Linked DNA regions of Homo sapiens: region 1 is linked to region 2. The links are contacts of gene promoters, found by promoter capture Hi-C in blood cells and fetal thymus (Javierre and others, 2016). All regions are on one chromosome and are shown on one strand. The core of a region is centred on a gene start or on the middle of the fragment in contact, and the rest is flanking DNA. Distances in the headings are between cores, read along the strand shown.

What was found. The method cuts DNA at HindIII sites, captures the fragments that hold promoters and counts their contacts. A CHiCAGO score of 5 or more calls a contact.
Region 1: a fragment that was not itself captured here is called in contact with the fragment with the promoter of TMEM98 in region 2 in 2 of 17 cell types (naive CD4 T cells and non-activated CD4 T cells); the score reaches 5.3 in naive CD4 T cells.

The regions. Positions count from the first base shown.
Region 1 is chr17:32,815,417-32,820,569 of GRCh38, forward strand. All of the region lies in intron 1 of MYO1D (myosin ID), which reads right to left. Among named protein-coding and RNA genes, the nearest start is that of MYO1D-DT, 59 kb to the right of the region's middle. The HindIII fragment of the contact is 2,430 bases long and covers 1,898-4,327 here.
Region 2 is chr17:32,924,092-32,929,590 of GRCh38, forward strand. It overlaps TMEM98 (transmembrane protein 98), which reads left to right and starts at 4,062. Exons shown (of 8, transcript NM_015544.3): 1 at 4,062-4,146. The HindIII fragment of the contact is 5,709 bases long and covers 1,673-5,499 here.

The sequences.
Region 1 (5,153 bases), core at 1,863-4,362, 110 kb before region 2:
TTGTGGCTCAAGAATTGTGAGAACTATCTCTAAAGTATGGAAAAATATCAATGATAATGACTTAAATATTTTAAATTTTCATGTTAGTTCTTATTCTCTTAACTTTTTTAAAAGCATAGTTATTATGCTTAAGTCCAATCCTGGTCAGGCAGCCCTCTTCCCTCTCGTAGATTTGCCAATGAGAACAGGAGGCCTAAAGAGCACACGCTTTGGCAAAAGAAACAAACAAGAAAGCATGCTGGCTCTGAATTCCCTTGGCCTCAAAGTGACACATCACTCTGTGCAGAGTTCATTGGCCAATACCACAGGTTAGTCCTGTGGTCCCCACCTAACTGCAAGCTAGGTAGGAAATGTTGAGAAGGACAAGGTAAGTGATTACCGTCTCTGCCACACCTGTATAGACCACAAGCCCCAGTTTCTAGGTACATTTTCCTATGTAAATTTCGGGGTTGTATTCTCTCATACAAATTAGTTTCTTGTAAGTTTGTTTACTAGTATCAATAACTGAGAATCAAGAGGATAAAATTAAACTTCTGGGCTTATAAACAAATCCTTTATCCATGGTAACCTAGTAGCAACTAACTGATCTGAAAACCAGTGGGAAGTAGCCAGTTGATTCTTCTCAATATCTCTCAGCTACAATATCCTAAACAAGGAATCCATTCATCTATCAGTCAATAAATATTTATTGAGAATGTCTGTGGGTCTAGTGTGATGTTTAACACTGCATTAAGCGTCTGGGAGTGAAAAGGGCACATTTGGTTCCTGCCCTGATCAAACTTAGAGTCAAGTGAGGAACACAGTTTTAAAAAATTATCAACAATCATATTATTACAATCCAGACAAACAAGAGATATAGGAAGAGGTCACAGTGCTAACACTGTATTAAACATGAGACCTGACCAGGTTAGGAAAGGCTTCACTGAGACAAACGCAGGGCCCAGAAGGATACATAAGGGTTAGGCAGCTAAAGAGAGAAGGTTAATGTCCTAGACCAAGGGAAAGGTTGGAAACTTAGTCCAATGTTATTTACTTTTCGTCTTAAACTTTGAAATCATTTTAATAATTATTTTGGTTTCTCTCCACCTGATTGCTGTAGTACTATTAAAACTGAATTTTAAATAATTCTGTTTGATTCTAAACAGTCAAGTTTGCAATAGATTGCCATGTTTTAACAATATCTTCAAATTCTAGGCAAGGGAAAAAACATTTGCATATAATTTTTCTCTAAACATATTTATACTATGTATTTACAATTAGTAAATCCTGAGTTACTTCATTGTTTTTATATTAAGTGGTCTAAATCTAATAAATGGATGCACTCACCTCAACTGCAGATATTATGAAAAATTCCTGGATGTAGCATAAGTATGAGTTTAAAATTCAACATCAAAACCTTAATCCATTTTCATCACACACACAGGATTTAGTCTTTCTTCCAATATAATACAGTCCCTTTTTGAATTTTTTTAAATAATAAAAAAATTAGTGTTTTTAACTAAAGAAAAAGATGACAAGCGGTAAGAAATGCCACAGAATAAAAAGTTTTTGGTGAGGAAAAATTATGTAACTTAGGCAAGTAACTACTTGTACCTCAAATTTCTATTTAATGAGGTACTAGATGTATTGCTATAAATAAAATAAAAATAGTAATTATCTGCTAGCTACTTCACAGTGATTTTTAAATTTTTTTGTAGATACAGGGTCATGATATGTTGCCCAGGTTGGTCTTGAACTCCTGGCCTCAAGTGATTCTCCCACCTCGGCCTCTCAAAGTGTTAGGATTATAGGCATGAGCCACCATGCCTGGCTAACAGTAATGTTACAAGAATACATTAGCAATCTACAAATTTTATGCATTTCTAAAAAGATATGAAGACTGAAGACTGAAGACTGAAGCTTCTTTATGTTGCTGAGTAACAGGAAAACAACCACCAGATTATTTAATGGTTTAGCAACAAAAAACTTGGAACAAGAACATATTTGTACCTCTCTTAATTACAGTAATAAAATGCATATACATTCTATGCCTTTTGAAGGTAATATTTTACACTCATAAAATGACTGCAGTTTAAAAACTGGTTTTGTCAGCTAAACACAGGAGTTACCATTTTCAAGGAAAGTAATCCTTCCCAGCTATAAAAGCCTATACATTTATGACTTGTTTTCAGTTCAAAAACTCAAAATTAACCAAAATAAAAGGATCCAGTAGAGGTTGATGTTCCTCTTTCTTTGCTTTTTCTCTAAACTGTTTTCAAGTAGTATAGTAATAGCCAACACTCACTGAGCGTTACCATGCCAGGCACTGAGCTAAGTGGTTTACGTGCATTATCACATTTAATCTTCACAACAACCCTATATGGTATGCACTTTTAAAGAAATATCTTACTTTCCAGATAAAGAAATGGAGACTTTAAGAGGTAGTAGGGGCCGGGCGCGGTGGCTCACGCCTGTAATCCCAGCACTTTGGGAGGCCGAGGCGGGCGGATCACGAGGTCAGGAGATCGAGACCATCCCGGCTAAAACGGTGAAACCCCGTCTCTACTAAAAATACAAAAAATTAGCCGGGCGTAGTGGCGGGCGCCTGTAGTCCCAGCTACTTGGGAGGCTGAGGCAGGAGAATGGCGTGAACCCGGGAGGCGGAGCTTGCAGTGAGCCGAGATCCCGCCACTGCACTCCAGCCTGGGCGACAGAGCGAGACTCCGTCTCAAAAAAAAAAAAAAAAAAAAGAGGTAGTAGGTTCTTGCCCTACAAGTATTGTGAAAGAGTTGAGATTCACCTAAGCAGTCTACTTCTAGAGCCAGTGCTTTTAACCACACCTCTATCCTGCAAATAGTCTGTAAACAAGTCTTAGTGATGCTTCTGTTCAAACTGTGGATCGCTGCTGCCCCTGCAGTCTCTGACCATTCTTCCCAGCAATGCTGAGCTGTGGTCCCATGTGAAGGCCTCATTATGGAAGGAGGGTTGGCTAAGTATCCAATAGTAGCTCCAGCCCAGTGGGAAGGTACCACCACTTGAGATGACACTGCAACGGAGGCAGATGCTCGATGGACACATTCAAGACCCATTCGGCTCAAGGATCAAAAAAATGGGGCTTGCAAGTTCCCATTCTTCTTTTCTAGAAGAGCTGCTGAGAGAGAGACCAATGGGGGAAATAAAGTGAAAGCCTCACTCTTCTCTAGCCTAAGTTTTAGAGTCCAGTGAAGCATTGCAGCATAGGCTTTGTAGTCAGAAAACCCTGAGATCAAATCCTGGTTCTACCACTTGCTATAGCGATCTTGGGCAAGGGGTCAGATCTCTCTAAGCCTGTTTCCTCATCTGTAAGGAAGGGTATTATATCACATAAGGTTACTGTGAGGACTAAATTAGACTAAGTATGCAATAGGATACCAGGGTCCAGTTTTCTTTGGATGTAATGGGCCTGGAAAATTCCTTAAAATCCTTTTCACCTACAAAATCTTATGAAGTTCTGCCTCATTTTCTGCTTAAAAACTTTAAAAAATTAATAGAAATAAAAGAGAATTCTACTAGAGAGATAGGTTGACGTTACTTCTTCCTTGCTTTTTCCTTAAAGTGGAATGTTAAAAACTAGGATATGCCTGGAAAGTGTTCTATCTACAAAAAAGGAAGTTAGCAGCCGCTGAAAAGTAACTACAGATGGCTATTCACTTTACTCTGAAAGCATTTGCTGTTGATATAATCACACCACAGGAAAACATCATAATGTTGGCTGAAAGAAATCTGAAATGACACAGCAATAATGCTTCATCATGTAGAAGTTGGTTTCAAGTTTTTTTTTTTTTTTCGGTCTGGATAGTGTGATTGCAAGAAGGGAGGCTATGCTAGCTTGGTTATAAGCAGGGAAGTTGGCTGTGAGGAGATAAACAGAGATCTCACAGGAATTCTGGGGTAGAAATCACTGGACCGGAACTGAAGGGCTATCTCCCAGCTTCTGCTTCTGCCTTTTCATTCAGTCCATTCCCCTCCGTTTACTCAACAGTTCCCTCTGCTTTGGTGGCAGTTTCTGCTCCTTCTCAAGGCTGACTTGCACATGGCTCTGACTTGCTGTGGCCTCCTCTCCATCATTCTCTGCATCAGGTGCTTTCAACCTTGATTTTATTGTTTATATATACTTATGAACTTTTCTGCAGGGAATGTCCATACTTTCATCAGATGCTTCAGGAAAGCAATGACCCCAAAAAGGAATAAAAACCACTGTTCTATCTCATGACACTCTACCTTTAGTTTCTACTAGTAACTCTTTTAGTTATTCAGTTTCTTAATTCCAAATTCCTACCAGAATAATAATAATGGCTACCATTTATGAAGCTTTGAGTATGAGCCAGATACTGTTCTAAGGACTTAACTATTTTTAATTCTCAAAACCACATTATATAGGATCTAATATTACAGAGAAGGAAACTGAGGCATAGTGAACTTTGGGTAACCTGCTTAAGGTTACACAACTAGCAAGTGGCTAAGTCGGAATTTCAATCTAGACAACATGCATAGTACTTAAAACTGACTGAGTTAAACTTTGCAAATCAAGCCACAGGTTGTTGGTAAGCCCACAGGTTGGTCATCTTTGGATTATGTCTCATTCCAGATGTGGCAAGAGGGAGAGACGGGAGACAGGAATCAAGTGGTTCAAAACATGGTCACTGTTCAGTAAGGCCATAGAAGGGTAGTTTCTCTTTTAAAAAGTGAGAACAAGGATGCACAGAAATGGGAACTCTTGCACACTGTTGGTGGGAATGTAAACTGGTACAGCCATTATGGAAAACAGTATGTAGGTTCCTCAAAAAATTAAAAATAGAGCTACCATATGACCCAGCAATCCCACTTCTGGGTATATGTTCAAAGGAAAGAAAATCACCATCTTGAAGACAGATCTTCACCCCATGTTCACTGCAGCATATTCACATTAGTCTCAAGATACGAAAGAATCAAAGTGTCTGTTGACAAATGGATGGATAAAGAAAATGTGATATACACACATACACAGAAAATGGAATACTATTCAGTTTTAAAAAGCAAATCCTGCCATTTGTGACATGAATGATTAATGAACCTGGAGGATATTATGCTAAGTGAAATAAGCCAGACACAGAAAGACAAATACTACATGATTTCACTTACAATATGGAATCTAA
Region 2 (5,499 bases), core at 2,812-5,311:
TGGACTCATGGAGAACCAGGACAGCAGCCTTGCCCTTCCTGAGTCCTTAAAGCTTTTGTTATTCAAGGTTATGCACTCCATGACTCATCATGGAAAAGATAAAATAATCCAAATTAAATATATATTGGTGTGCTGACTTATACATTGCTAAAGTAGTTTATAACCAATGTTTGGTTTGTCAAATCCATATTCCTGGGAAGACAATCAAATCTTCAAGTACATTTGGCTACCTCATGGGCCATTTAAACATTTCAATTGCCATTTTCAATGCATGTTTCTGGTTGTAAAAAAGCTTTCCTATGCAAGAGGGCTGATGTTATAACAGTAGATTATTATGCTACAGTGTATTTTCACCAGGTAAAGAAAGCTTTTTATGGGTCACTGAGGACAATCAACCCCTTCACAATCTAGAACCCAAAGATTGGGTCTTCTGAGAATATCTACTGTAAAGGCTATAGTTACACAACAGATTTTAAATTCTTTTGTGAAGGTTACGATAGAATCGGCTGAACAGAGAAGTATCTGTGCAGCTGCTGGCACTTGTGGCTTATGGAGAAATACATCAAATGAAGATTATAGAGATTTAGTTGTAGGGGATTAACGAAGAGATTTCTTAGTTAAGTGAGTAGATTCTTTAGCACATTCTTTGATTTAATTTTAGGTGGTTTGGTTTATGGGGATCCTTGGTATGAAGTATGCTCCAAACTCTTAGTATTATCCTCCCAGTAGTCATAATAATAGTCTCCCTGGTGCGCTGTATTATCTCAAAGGCTTTAAATGCTTGCATTCAGCCATCTCTAGAATGTCAAATGGTCTCTTTTCAAGTGGAATGACAAGAGCTGAAAGAAGTGCATGACCAGGAGGATACCATAACCTATGAATGATGTGGTGAGACTGGAAACCCAAAATGATGGCAAGTGAGTGTGGTGCTAAGGCCTTAAATTTTGGTCACACTCTCACCCAAGTGAGAACCTGACCAAAAAGGGAGAATTTTTTTAACAAAATTATGAGAGGCCAGTGTTTTGGACTGACATCATGTGCTAGGCCCCAGCAAACCAAACAAACCAAAACACATAGATCCTAAAACAGACCAGGTTTTGTTTTTCTCCTGCAAACAGGATGTTCCACCATAAGGAGGTACCCTCTACTCAGTCCTTGTTCCCACTGTACAAAACTCACTGTTGTTTTACTGTTTCCCAGTGGGTTTCAAGACCAAATAAGTTCATTTATGATGGTGGTAGTGACATGAATGACTAAAGGTTTGGTCAATCTCTCAAAATTGAGAAAATGACCAAAAGGGGGAAATTGTTAAAGCAAATTAAATATAGCCTGAGAAGGACTCCGTATTTCTATATTGGAGTCTCTGTGGATGAACGGTAACCTAACTTAGGAATATGTGCCTGTAAAAATAGCTGAGTCTTGGCCAATCCCAGCAACCCCAAATCAGGCCAGGAGATAAGGTACTTAATAAAACGTGGAAGTGCTCTGGATAATAGTGGCCATTTTTTTATTGCCTTCTTCCAAACTTATGGAATCACTTCCTTTGTAGTAATTAGCAGAATGTTTCAATTCATCTCCATAATGAACATTCCTGACAGCATAAGTATCCACCCCCTGAAGTTCCTGTTAAATCTTTTAACCATATTCATTTCCTTTCACATAGAGACCATCAAGCTTCAGATGATCATGTGACAAAGTTTCCAGTCAGTTCCAAGTGAAGACACCACCCCTGGCCATCAGGATGCCACACTGTCTCCACTAGACAGAGTAGGGCAAGAGTTCCATGATCTCCAGTAGGTAGGAACTACGCCCCAAGTTGGCATAAAGCAGTTACAGTTCCTCTGCATCCCATAAAGATTTATGGGGGTCATGTCTCTCAGGAGAGAGATGAGGCAGGAGAATAGGGTCTGGAGGCAGGAAACCTAAGGGTTCACCTGACTTCCTAGAACTAAATCAAAAGGAAAACCCCAACTTTCCGCACCTAAGTAACAAACGGACCAGAGACTACTCCCTTTGCAACCCCCACTCCCCACTTTCTGCTTGGCAGATGGAAAATCTTTTGAAAGTACCTCTGATTGCCTTTCCGCAACCAATCCTGCGTTTGCATAGAAGTGTAACTTTGTAACTTCACTTCAGCCTCTGATTGGTTGTGGAAAGCAACCAGTCAGACTGATTGCGGCCAAATATTCTTTTGCATAGGAGTGTAACTTTGTAACTTCACTTTAGCCTCTGATTGGTTGTGGAAAGTAACCGATCAGACTGATTGCGGGCCAAATCTTCTTTTGCATAGGAGTGCAACCTTTGTAACTTCACTTCAGCCTCTGATTGGTTGCTTTCCACAACCAATCAGACTAATTGTGGCACCACTTCATTTACATGGGGTGAACGCCAAGTGGCCAATGGGAAACCTCTAGGAGGTATTTGGACCCCAGAAGATTCTACAGCAGGGGCTCTTGAGCCCATATGCAGGGGCCTGCTCCCACCTTGTGGAATGCACTTTTGTTTTCAATAAATCTCTGCTTTTGTTGCTTCATTCTTTCTTTACTTGCTTTGCTTGTGCCTTTTGTCTAATTCTTTGTTCAAAATGACAAGAACAGGCCGGGTGCGGTGGCTCATGCCTATAATCCCAGCACTTTGGGAAGCTGAGGTGGGTGGATCACCTGAGGTCAGGAGTTCCAGACCAGCCCGGCCAACGTGGCGAAACCCCGTCTCTACTAAAAATAACAAAAAAAATTAGTGGGACGTGGTGGCGCACACCTGTAATCCCAGCTACTTGGGGGGCTGAGGCAGGAGAATCGCTTGAACCCAGGAGGCAGAGGTTGCAGTGAGCTGAGATCGTGCCATTGCACTCCAGCCTGGGCAACAGAGCCAGACTCTGTTTCAAAAAATAAATAAATAAATAAATAAATAAATAAATAAAGGCAAGAACCTGGACACCCTCCACCCGTAAACAGCCAAGACTGTGCCACAGCACTCCAGCCTGGGCGACTGACTGAGACTCTGTCTCAAAAAAATTAAAATAAAACAACAAAAGTATGAACCAAAAAAACCACCTCTGTGGGCTGGATGTGGCCTTGGGGGTACCAGTTTGCAGACCCTGTGTCAAGCGGCCTAGGACCCAATCTGTATCCTTTGTTAACTGTCACCGATACTGACCTCAGACCTGGACCACTGGGATCCTGCCCTGAACCCCGTGCTTTAGTTGGCCCACTCCAGCTGGAGCGTATGTTCCCTTCTAGATCATGCTCCTGGTACCCTGGACTCCGGAAATCCCTGTGTAAACAGCCCTGAGCCTGCTTCCAAGGTCTGACTTCCATCCACCCAGGGCAGCCTGCCCTGCCTGGCCTGAGTATCGTTAGAATGAAGGATGGCAGGGTAGGGGGTGTGTGTTTGCCTGAACCAGTAGACCCCCTTCAGTATGTATGGGATGGAGTCGTGTGGGAATAGAAGCAGCAAGACTACTAGCAAGGGCTCTGCATTTGTACTCTTGCCCCTGGCTAGGCAGTCGCCAGGGGTGGGCCTGCTTCTCACTGACCCGTGGGTCAGGCTGTAAATAAGAGCGACCCTCGATTCACTCTTTACCCTGGGCCAGGCAGTCCGATGCATCCTGCATCCCATCATTCCTAATACCAACTCTGAGGATGCTGACAAGCAGCAGCCCCGTTTTACAGACCGAGGCACAAAGGCTGAACTAAGTTGTCCATAGCTAGTGAGTGGCAGAGGCAGGGTTTCAATGGGACAGTCCGTGGCGGAGCACACTGGCTCCGCCGCCAGCCCCCCTGCGGTACCCATCCGCGCTCGCCGCCTGGGACCGCCAGCCCGGGGCGGGGCGCAGGCAGGGACCCTCCGCTCCCCTCTCCGTCTGCCGCCCGGACGGGCCACCGCGGGGGCGCGAGGAAGGGGTGTTGGGTCGCCAGGGCCCGCCTCCCAGCTGCCCCGGCCGCCGGGGGGCCTGGCGGTGACGGCGGCGCCTGGCGGCGGGGATTTGGCGCGGGCCGGGGGCCGGGGGCCGGGGCGCGGGGGCGCGAGGCTGGATTCCTAGGGCCGCGGCGCTTCCCGGCATGCTCCGCTGCAGGCCCGCGCCCGCGCCCGGACTTTGCCATCGGCGGGGCAGTCGCGGGATGCGCCCGGGAGCCACAGCCTGAGGTGGGTGAGCCCCGCCGGGCCGGGCGGGCCGCGGCGAGTCGGGGAAGGGGACGCGGGGGCGCGGGGCCTGGCCCGGCTGCCGGGGAGAGGGGAGGCGGGTGCCGCAGCTTTGTTCTTGCCGCGGGGCCGCGCGCCCGAAGTTGGGGAAAGGAGTAGGAGCCGCGCCCCGGAGCGCTCCGGGGCCCGTGCGGCGCGTCCCGGGCGGGCTGGGGGTCCCTCCCTCCCGGGGACAGAGTGGGCGTCCTGGGTGGACGAGCACGGGGAAGCGGGTAGGGTCTTGGGTCTGTTCTGTCCTTGTGGTTCTGGAACCGGAGGGGAAGGGGGAAAGTAAGGGAGAGAGAAAGAGACGGAGAAAAACAGGAAAACTTACTCTTCAGTACGCAGGGAAGAATAGAGAAAGAAAAACACAAAGAAACGCCACGCAGACTGCAGAGAAGGACCACGAACACACGCTCCGAGAAACACACTCAGCTCACACGCACTGAGAAGCACACTTAAGATAAACACTCAGGTCACACACACAAGCACACTAAGAAACATTCAGTTCACACACACTCAGAAACACACGCACTCAGAAGCACACAAGATAAACACTCAGCTCACACACAGAAGCACACTCAGAAACATTCAGTTCACACACACTCAGAAACACACGCACTCAGAGGCACACAAGATAAACACTCAGCTCACACACAGAAGCACACTCAAACATTCAGTTCACACACACTCAGAAACACACTCCGAGAAACAGTTCACACTCGCTCAGAAGCACACTCAGCTCACACACACAAGCACACTCGGAGAAACATTCAGCTCACACACACTCAGAAACATACTCTGAGAAACACAATCAGCTCACACCCACTCAAGCACACTCAAGATAAACAGCTCACACAAGCACATTCAGAAAACACTCAGAAACATAGCTAACACTCAGAAACACACTCTGAGAAACACAGCTCACACACTCAGAAGCACACTCTGAGAAACAGCTCACACACACAGAAACAGAAAAACAGCTCACGCACACTAACACAAACACACACGGAGAAACACACTTAGAAGCACACTCAGCTCACACACACCCAGAGAAACACGATCAGAGAAACACTCAGAACGCACAGGAAGAGAGAGGAAACCAAGTGGGTGGTCTTGGAGGCCTGGGGACCGGGGGAGGGGAAGGAGAGACACTGAGAAGCGGGAGACGGGAGCAGCAGAGGGAAAGATGCCTGGAAAGAGAAACAGAGATAAAGGCAGACATAAGAGGAGGCAGAAAACACAAAGGCCAAAAGGAGGTGGTTAAAAGGACAGTAAAGAGAAACACACACGTAGAGAAACAGAGGCGGACCCTGA